Linked DNA regions of Homo sapiens: all the other regions are linked to region 1. Evidence: promoter capture Hi-C in 16 types of primary human blood cells and fetal thymus (Javierre and others, 2016). All regions are on one chromosome and are shown on one strand. The core of a region is centred on a gene start or on the middle of the fragment in contact, and the rest is flanking DNA. Distances in the headings are between cores, read along the strand shown.

Region 1 (2,700 bases), core at 158-2,657:
TCACAATGCATACTTATCCATGTGATCCTGTGCAAGTAACTTAACCTCTAAAATCATGTTCCCTCACATATAAAATATATAACAGCACCTACTTCACAGGGTTACAAATATTAGATAAGAACTGCACCCTGGGCTTTACTGTTCCATCTCTACATTTCCTAGTAACGTAAGCGGAGAAAACAGCAGTTTGTTAAGAACCTTTAATACACTGTGATAGCCACAAATCAAAAGTAAAAATAGCATTTATTCCTGCCCTGTGCTCATTCTTCCTGTAAAATGGCTCACTGCCTTAATGTTGCTGCTGATTCCGTTCCTGTTTTGTTTCCGGTTTTTTTTCCCCATGCTCACAACCTGAAAACAAGAAAGCCACTATTTTTGAAATATCCCATTTGAATAATCAAGCACTTTAACCCGTATTATCTGACTTGCTCTGATAACGCTGTGAAGTAGGCAAGGAAGGTACTGCTAGCCTGATTCCTCAGAAAAAAGGATTCAGCATTAAAAGGTCAAGTAACTGCGACCAACCAGACACAGTCTTAGTCGGGTCTGGAGAGGAAACAAGTTCGCAAACTGTTAGTCTAGTAGTTTCTTCCTAATAAGAAAGACCAGCTGGAATACTTTGGGACGAAAGACACTGCAGACATACTGGCTATTAAAACTTTTAAGACATAAATTTTGTAGGTTTCGCCAACACAATTTCTTCTGCGACTGATTTCTTTGTCTCCGTTCCCCGAGAGCAAGTATAGTAACCACTTGTGCTTGGAGCACAAATCCAGTAAGACAAAAGAAATGACAGGTACACGTGTCACAAAGTATCTTATTTAACACACCTAATGCTAGTTCAATTTTTTTTAACGCTAAAATGGTCACAATGAAATGGTCACGATGATTAAACACTAAGCACTGCAGAAGGCAACATCGTGCGATCGAAAACCCTGAGTGAATGTCGGCCTTCCTCCGCCGCAGGGGTTGCAGCGCAGGGTACGCGCACGGCTCGGCGCCCCTCACCTTGGCCAGGATGTAGTGCTGGTAGGCTGCCAAAGGCAGCGTGACAGCACCCCGTAAGGCCACGGTGGAGAGCAGAATGCTGCCCCACCAGGGCAGGCCCGTGGCGGCGTGCACGCCGAGCAGTACTTCCTCCGCAACCCGCACCGGCGAAGACGCGGCCAGGGCCTCGTACCAGCCGTTCGCATGTACTGCAGAGACTGGTGCCACTGCCCACACTGGGAGAGTGGGGCGCTTGGCGCCGCTCGTAGGAACCGGCGCAAGCGGCAGGTCCCTAGCCCAAAGCTGCAGGGCAGGGAGCGGCCGCAGCCACCGACCGCCGAGCCGGCACAGCATTTCTGCACCACGGCGGAGCCCAGATCCCGGGCCTCACAATCCAGCGGACATACACCGGCCAGCCAAGGCTGATACGCGCACGCGCCAGCAACAGCGGGCATAAAGCGCATGCGCGCCTGCCTGCAGCCGCGATTGACCTTCCCAGTCAAGCCGGTGACGTCTTGCGTCGCAGTGGATGTGACGCAAGAGATAGGAAAGTCCCGCCTTTCCCACGCGGCACTGGACAGGCCTACTGCGCACACGCGAAAGTTTCCCGCTGCTAGGGTGTAGTTAGTCCGAGGCCGGACCAAAACTGCAGAGACATGGGTGGAGCCTGCTGCCCTCCGCCAGGCTGGGTGTTCTTTAGGGAGCTCTCGCCTTGTAAAGTTCATCTACACCGTGTAACTTACCATTCTTTTTCACTAAAGCTAATAGTCATTTGTAGTGGAATTATCCTTGCTCGGTTTTTTGTGACCAGAAGCTGATCCCCAACCTCTTTACGTGCACCTGATTGCTTCCGTTAGCGATTACGATAGATTATCATACTCAAGAGTCACACGTTGCTAAAGTACCTGCTTGTAGAGAGACGCATGTTTCTTGCTGACTCTGAGTGTTAAGCACGAGGGATAGTTCAGTCTCTTGTAGATTTAATTGGCCCATCTGTTCCAGTTAGTATTTGGACCACCAACTGCAAACTGAATTTCTTCGGTGTTTTGTCTTCCATGATAAATAGCAGCAAAAATCTTATAGTAAAAGTATCATCTCTTTATTTAAGGGAAACTATCACTGGCAGTACGGTGAATTCCTTGAGTTTACTTGTATCCTATATAAGCTTTAAAGAGCCTGAACAGCAGCACTGGCTGTCTTCTGGTTTAAAGGAATACGTTGAATCTACATGGACTATATAGTTTTAACTTTTGTGTTCCTGGAAACAACAAAATGGAATGTTGTGGAGGAGTTTCCTCACCGAAGGGTCACCCCTAGACTACAGACTAAAATATGTTGTGAGGAGTAAACCTTGATTTTTATTTATTTATTTATTTACTTACTTAGGAAAAGAAGCCTCCAACAATGTTGGGTAATGTCAAACGCCAGCTATTGTTTGCCCTTCACTGTGCACCTAACCAAGGGTACCCTACGATAACTTTCTCAGGATTCTGGAATTCATCTGCTTTCCAAACTGACTGATAAATCTATACATGAATTTTTAAATGTGTTTAAACACACAGCACAACACACACTATATATAAACTTTTTCTAAAAGAAAAACCTACCAATCTATTTCTTTATCCATTTATTAAGCTAACAAAAAAGCCATCAGTTGCTACTGACTACTGTTCAGCTGTTCATAATCTGAACAGAATTTTAAAGTTATTTTTG
Region 2 (2,793 bases), core at 210-2,709, 4.1 Mb after region 1:
CTCCAAATAGTAAAGCTTCAAATGTACTACCTTAAATCTGGTTCTACTTCTGCATGTAGCCACAATTTCTTATTCAGAATGTGGTTGAAAACATAAAAATATACGTAATTAAACAGACCTGAGGATCTTTGATATAAAGCAGTCTTTCTTTTTTTCTGAGACGGAGTCTCGCTCTGTCACCAGGCTGGAGTGCAGTGGCGTGATCTTGGCTCACTGCAACCTCCACTTCCCAGGTTCAAGTGATTCTCCTGTCTCAGCCTCCCAAGTAGCTGGGACTACAGGTGTGTGCCACCACACCCAGCTAATTTTTGTATTTTTAGTAGAGACAGGGTTTCAACAGCAGTCTTTCTTTTTAAAGTTAAAAAAAAAATTTCATTTTGAAAACACTTTAAAATGTTAACAGAAGCAAATTTTAAGCTTATACCACTTATCCATATCACTTTAAACATCAATTGCCTTTTCATTTGAGATAAAAAAAGAGATCATGACTCTCACAGACAGTAAAACTTCTTTTGGAAATAAGATGATACATTCAACAGATGTATCCTAAGTTACTCTTTGCTGACAGTGTCAACTTCATATAGCACTGTGATGTCAAGGAAAGACAGGAAATCTCTGAGTTAGGTCATGGTTCTTGAAACAAACCATGAAAGAAAAATGTGTTACATAAAGAATCATGTACAATGTACCAGAATGTAGCCTGAGCCACTTAAAATATATTTTAAGATGATTTTGAGATGATTAGTTCTGATTTCAGGCATTGCCGAATTCTCAGTTCACTCTCCTTTGCCAGGCTTTTCACATTATGTCAAAGCTACTTCATTTATTTCAGTTGATTATTCGTGTAAAAGAGAGAGCACTGGATAACAAAGTACTGAGTCGGGCTTCAGAGTCAACCGAGCATTTAGTTCTCAAGTTCTCAGGTTGCAGAGATAGTTCCTACAAGGCTACTCTCTTGCAGGCTAGTAGAACTGGGAGGGACTAAAGTGGCTGGCTGGAAAAACTGGTCCTCTTGCTGTAGTCATTCAGATGGTGTCTACAGTGTGGATAATTTCCACAATTCCAAAGCCAACCCTACGTAGATAAACACTATGAATGTTTATGAATATGGCCAACCCTTGCATAAACACTCTTCCAAAAAAACAGGGCATGCTTCTAGCATTAACAACAAAAGCAACAAAATATATAGTAAATGGATTGTAAAATGTTGATTTCAAATTTGAGATGGTCTTGTTTGTGGGAAAATCAGAAAGGAGAATATATGAGATGTTTCACTGACTTATTCTGCTGATTGCTTGAAGACAGAGATTAATCATCTGCTATATAAATCATCTCATTCTTCCAGGTTCTGATTTAAAAATGAGCTCTTGGTTGAAAAATCTGCATTACTTCAAGATAGCACCCTATGCTACTATGCTATACCTTCCCTGTTTCTCTTCCTCAGAGAGGCATTCCTGTCTCCATTGCAGGTTCTGTGAAGCAAGACTTATCTAAGCAGGAAGTTTGGGGCTGCAAACCACTTTTTTTTTTTTTTTTGAGACAGGGTTTTGCTCTGTTGCCCAGGCCAGAGTGCAGTGACATGATCATGGCTCACTGTAGCATAGACCTCCCAGGCTCAAGCAATCTTCTTGTCTCAGGCTCACATGTAGCTGGGACTACGGGTGCATGCCACCACGCCCAGATAATTTTTAAAATTTTTTGTAGAGATGAAGTCTCGCTATGTTGCCCAGGCTGGTCTTGAACTCCTGGGCTCAAGTGATCCTCCCACCTCAGCCTCCCAAAGTGCCGGGATTCCAGGTATGAACCACTGTGCTCAGCCTAATGACAGAAAACAGCCCAGGCAGGGACCCAGCAATAGTGAGTAGACGGGGAGGGGGAGTATGGCCTCATGTCAGCTTTACGTATCCTTATCCTCAGGTTCTTTCCTTTCAGGGCTGCTTTCCACCAGACTTCTTTGATGAGGTTAGGGATGATCCCTTCCTTTCCCTTCATGAAGTCACAACATGGTGCAGCCTAGAAATATATAGCTAGTTGCTTTCACAAATGTTTGTATTCAGTCATCACATATGAAGCAGACACAACTACCTCTGGCTTTTTGTTTTCCTCAGTTTAGAAAGCTGAGGCTCAAGACCATGGGAATTATTCAGGGTATTCAAGGCACCATTTCTAATGAGTAGGAAAGCTGAGACACAAAGCCAGTTTGATCCATGGCCAGTGCTTTTGCCCTACACCTCAGACATACCAGGGTATATGCTGGGGCCTTGTTTTATTTATGTATTTTTGTATTCCTGGTGCCTAGTAGCATGCCTGGCACTCAGTGTGTATTCACTAAATTTCGATTGAATAAAAAGCTAGGATTTATTGTCAAAAACCATATCTTTGAGGAGAAAGATGATATTTGGAAAATTGTAGCAATTTTGATGCCTTATGAAGTTCAGGGAAGTCTAAGTCATTTAGGGAAGCACTGCAACTGTCCCATGAGAGTGCCCTATTTTCAAGGTAGAAGCTTAAGTGTGAGCAGGTTTGCAGCACACTTGTCAGGAGTCAGGGATTCACTGAATGTAGTCAGTGTTTCTGTGTGGGCACTCCCTGCTTATTACCCATTCTGTGAGCACCTTTTAGTTTCAGTCTCACATGTCACTGAGGACAATGGGCTGCACATCAGGCTTTCATGGGGTTATTGGTGACAGTATCACCCAACCCCACTGCACCCCTACCACATGCTGTAGAAAACCAAGTATCTTAAATTGTCTGGAAGTTCTTGGGGGCTGCCAAGTTTCTGATTTCCTTATT
Region 3 (2,700 bases), core at 98-2,597, 4.7 Mb before region 1:
ATTACAGAAAGGTCTATTAATTAACCTGGGGGCTATAAACAGGTTAAATGGGATTCAAATTTTCCCCAAAGTGGGAAAGAAATCTGTGACTGAAGAGAATAGTTAATACAAACGATAAGGTTACATAGGAAATGGAAAAGATATCATTTTCCTTTACATTTGGAAACAGACACAATCTAAAGATATCTGAAAATTACTATGTCTGGAATAGCAAAATTGATCATTTTGGGTGGTACCAATGCTGATATGTACTTTCTATCATTTTTCTAAAATGAAAACAGGCTATATGGGTTTTTATTTTTGTTTACTTTTAAAAAATCTTATTTAAAATCAAGATATGTCAAACAAAAAAGCTTCTCTCATCATCTAGATTCATGTTTTTGCTAAGAAAAATTTCTTCAAGATCTGAATGGTGGCAAACACCATTTTCGGACTCTAAATTATAAAAAAAATAGTCTGATAGAAGTAAATCAATGTTTTACAGATGTTTAATAAGTACTGGGTCAAAGCTCACTAATCAGTAAAAAAGTAGATCCAACAGGTCTTCACAGAATCAAATACATTTGTAGAAGACAAAAAGAAAAAATTTCAAGACTATCACAATGAAACAGGCAAATAATGCTATACAAATCTTTTCATAAAATCACTAGATCTTATTCAGAAATATCATCCCCGAACCCTGAACATTTATATTATATACTTTAGACATGCTAAATTTAATACAGAATGAAATAATTTTGCAGAATGTTAATTTAAATAAATTTAAGTTTCAAACACACTTAAAGCCTGGTTTTCCTATAAAAAGGGGTATTACTGTTTTAAAGTTTTAACGAATTCAAATTCAGATACTGGTTGTAGTTTTAGAAAGCACCTACAACCTTTTTCAAGACAACAAATATTAACCAATGCTTACTACTTTTTAAAAATACTTTGTCACTTTTAAAATTTTATCACTTTTAAAATATATCATATATACAAATCATATAAAATAGAGCATGTTTAATCATTCATTACTTTGCAGATAAAGAAAGAGAAGCTCAAATGTTCCAGTTGACCAAATACACTTGTCTAGTAACAAATGGATATTAGTATGAAGTTCCGGCTTTAGAAATTGACAGTTAAATCAGATGGGGAACAATAAAAGCAACTTTAACCAAAGTATAAAGAACACAAATGCAAAATATTAAAAGGGCATATATACTAGAACATAAATTTCAAATTAGTGCACCAGAAAGCTCTATATCTTTAACATTACAACATTTAAAATCTACTGAAATATTCAAAATCAACTATAACACCCTCACTTAAATGATGTACACACTTTTATCCGTATTATAGTCCATAACATCAATAAACTGTGTGGTTTTACCACAAACTGGCAAACTAAAACCTACAGGATAAACATGGCCCATTGCCTATTTAGAATGGCCTGCAAGAATGGTTTTTACGTTTTTAAGGCGCTTATTAACAAGAAAAAAAAAAAAGCAAAGAATATGTCAGAGAACACTTACAGCCCACAAAGTCTATTTGGCCCTTTACAAAGAGTTTTGCCAACCCCTGATATAATACAAATGACCAAATTTTAAGTACTTTTCTCCATCACTGAAACTCCTTATATATACACTGGAATATAATATACAAGGGGAAAAGTCTTGGAGGTTAAGGAAATGCAGGTTATAGCTTGCATTTAGGTATCAGGAAATTCCCAGTCTTTCTGAGTTCAAGATTCTTCACCTCTGATAAGAGGCACTTAAAAAAGGTCAGTTTTGGGGAAAGGAAAAGCAGGACATTTGAATCTTCTATGAGTTTTTCAACCTGTAAGAAGACTCTCCTTCCTTATAACTATTGGACTTTAATAAAACCTGCCTGCCCCAACCCTCTTGCTAATGACTGGGCTATGTGATATATATAAAATCTGGTCCAGAACACAAAACAAAATTCCTTCTTCAACAAAACAGGTATGGTATATGCATACATGTTCTGATTATCTACTGCTGTATAAGATGATCACCCTAAAACTTGACTTAAAATGGTAACACCTTTCATTATGGCTCATGGTTCCAGGGCTCAACCGGGGTCTCCCATGTGGCTGCAGTCAAATGGGGCTGGGGCTGGGGCTGAAATCATCTGAAGGCTTGTTCATTGACAAGTCTCGTTGATGTCTAGGCTGGGAAGATTCAAAGCTGGAGCTTCTCCAACATTTCTGTGTGTGTGATTACTCATTACTATGGCAACCACCGAGTAGGCAGATCTTTTACATGGTAGTTTAGGACTCTCGTGTCCCAACAGAGACGGGAACAGGTAGAAATCCAGCAACACCATCACAGTATTTATTCATCACAAAAGCTTACCTAGCTTCAAACAGAGGGGACACATATTCCAATCACTGTTGACAGAAGTGTCATACATAATACATGACAGATGTTTCCAAAATTACTATAGTTTTATTTAAGGGTAAATATTTTAATTATATACTTGAGGTGCATTTTTAATAACAAAAATTCATTTAAATAGGTCAATGTTAAAGCTTATAGTATTAAGTTATAAAGCTAATGTAAACTGCTGCTTCTGGCCATATTCTTCACTGACTTGAAAAAGTACACTTTGCATACATTTTAATTCATTTTTTTAACGTAGAATGAATTATAAAAGAAGAAACATTTTAATACTCTCACAAGCTACTGCTGTTAAAGACTATAA

What was found. The method cuts DNA at HindIII sites, captures the fragments that hold promoters and counts their contacts. A CHiCAGO score of 5 or more calls a contact.
Region 2: a contact is called between a fragment that was not itself captured here and the fragment with the promoter of COX18 in region 1, in 1 of 17 cell types (non-activated CD4 T cells). The highest score is 7.1, in non-activated CD4 T cells.
Region 3: a fragment that was not itself captured here is called in contact with the fragment with the promoter of COX18 in region 1 in 1 of 17 cell types (total CD4 T cells); the score reaches 6.1 in total CD4 T cells.

Annotation. Positions count from the first base shown.
Region 1 is chr4:73,068,309-73,071,008 of GRCh38, forward strand. COX18 (cytochrome c oxidase assembly factor COX18) reads right to left here and starts at 1,408. Exons shown (of 6, transcript NM_001297732.2): 1 at 1,009-1,408. The coding sequence starts at 1,341. LOC112268467 (a long non-coding RNA gene) reads left to right here and starts at 1,638. Exons shown (of 2, transcript XR_002959797.2): 1 at 1,638-1,721. RefSeq lists enhancers at 727-1,242, 1,177-1,696, 1,243-1,759. The HindIII fragment of the contact is 3,732 bases long and covers 1-2,150 here.
Region 2 is chr4:77,151,664-77,154,456 of GRCh38, forward strand. No RefSeq gene overlaps it. Among named protein-coding and RNA genes, the nearest start is that of CCNG2, 4.1 kb to the right of the region's middle. RefSeq lists an enhancer at 931-980 and a silencer at 2,691-2,760. The HindIII fragment of the contact is 2,089 bases long and covers 416-2,504 here.
Region 3 is chr4:68,340,116-68,342,815 of GRCh38, forward strand. All of the region lies in intron 1 of YTHDC1 (YTH N6-methyladenosine RNA binding protein C1), which reads right to left. Among named protein-coding and RNA genes, the nearest start is that of YTHDC1, 8.6 kb to the right of the region's middle. The HindIII fragment of the contact is 1,993 bases long and covers 352-2,344 here.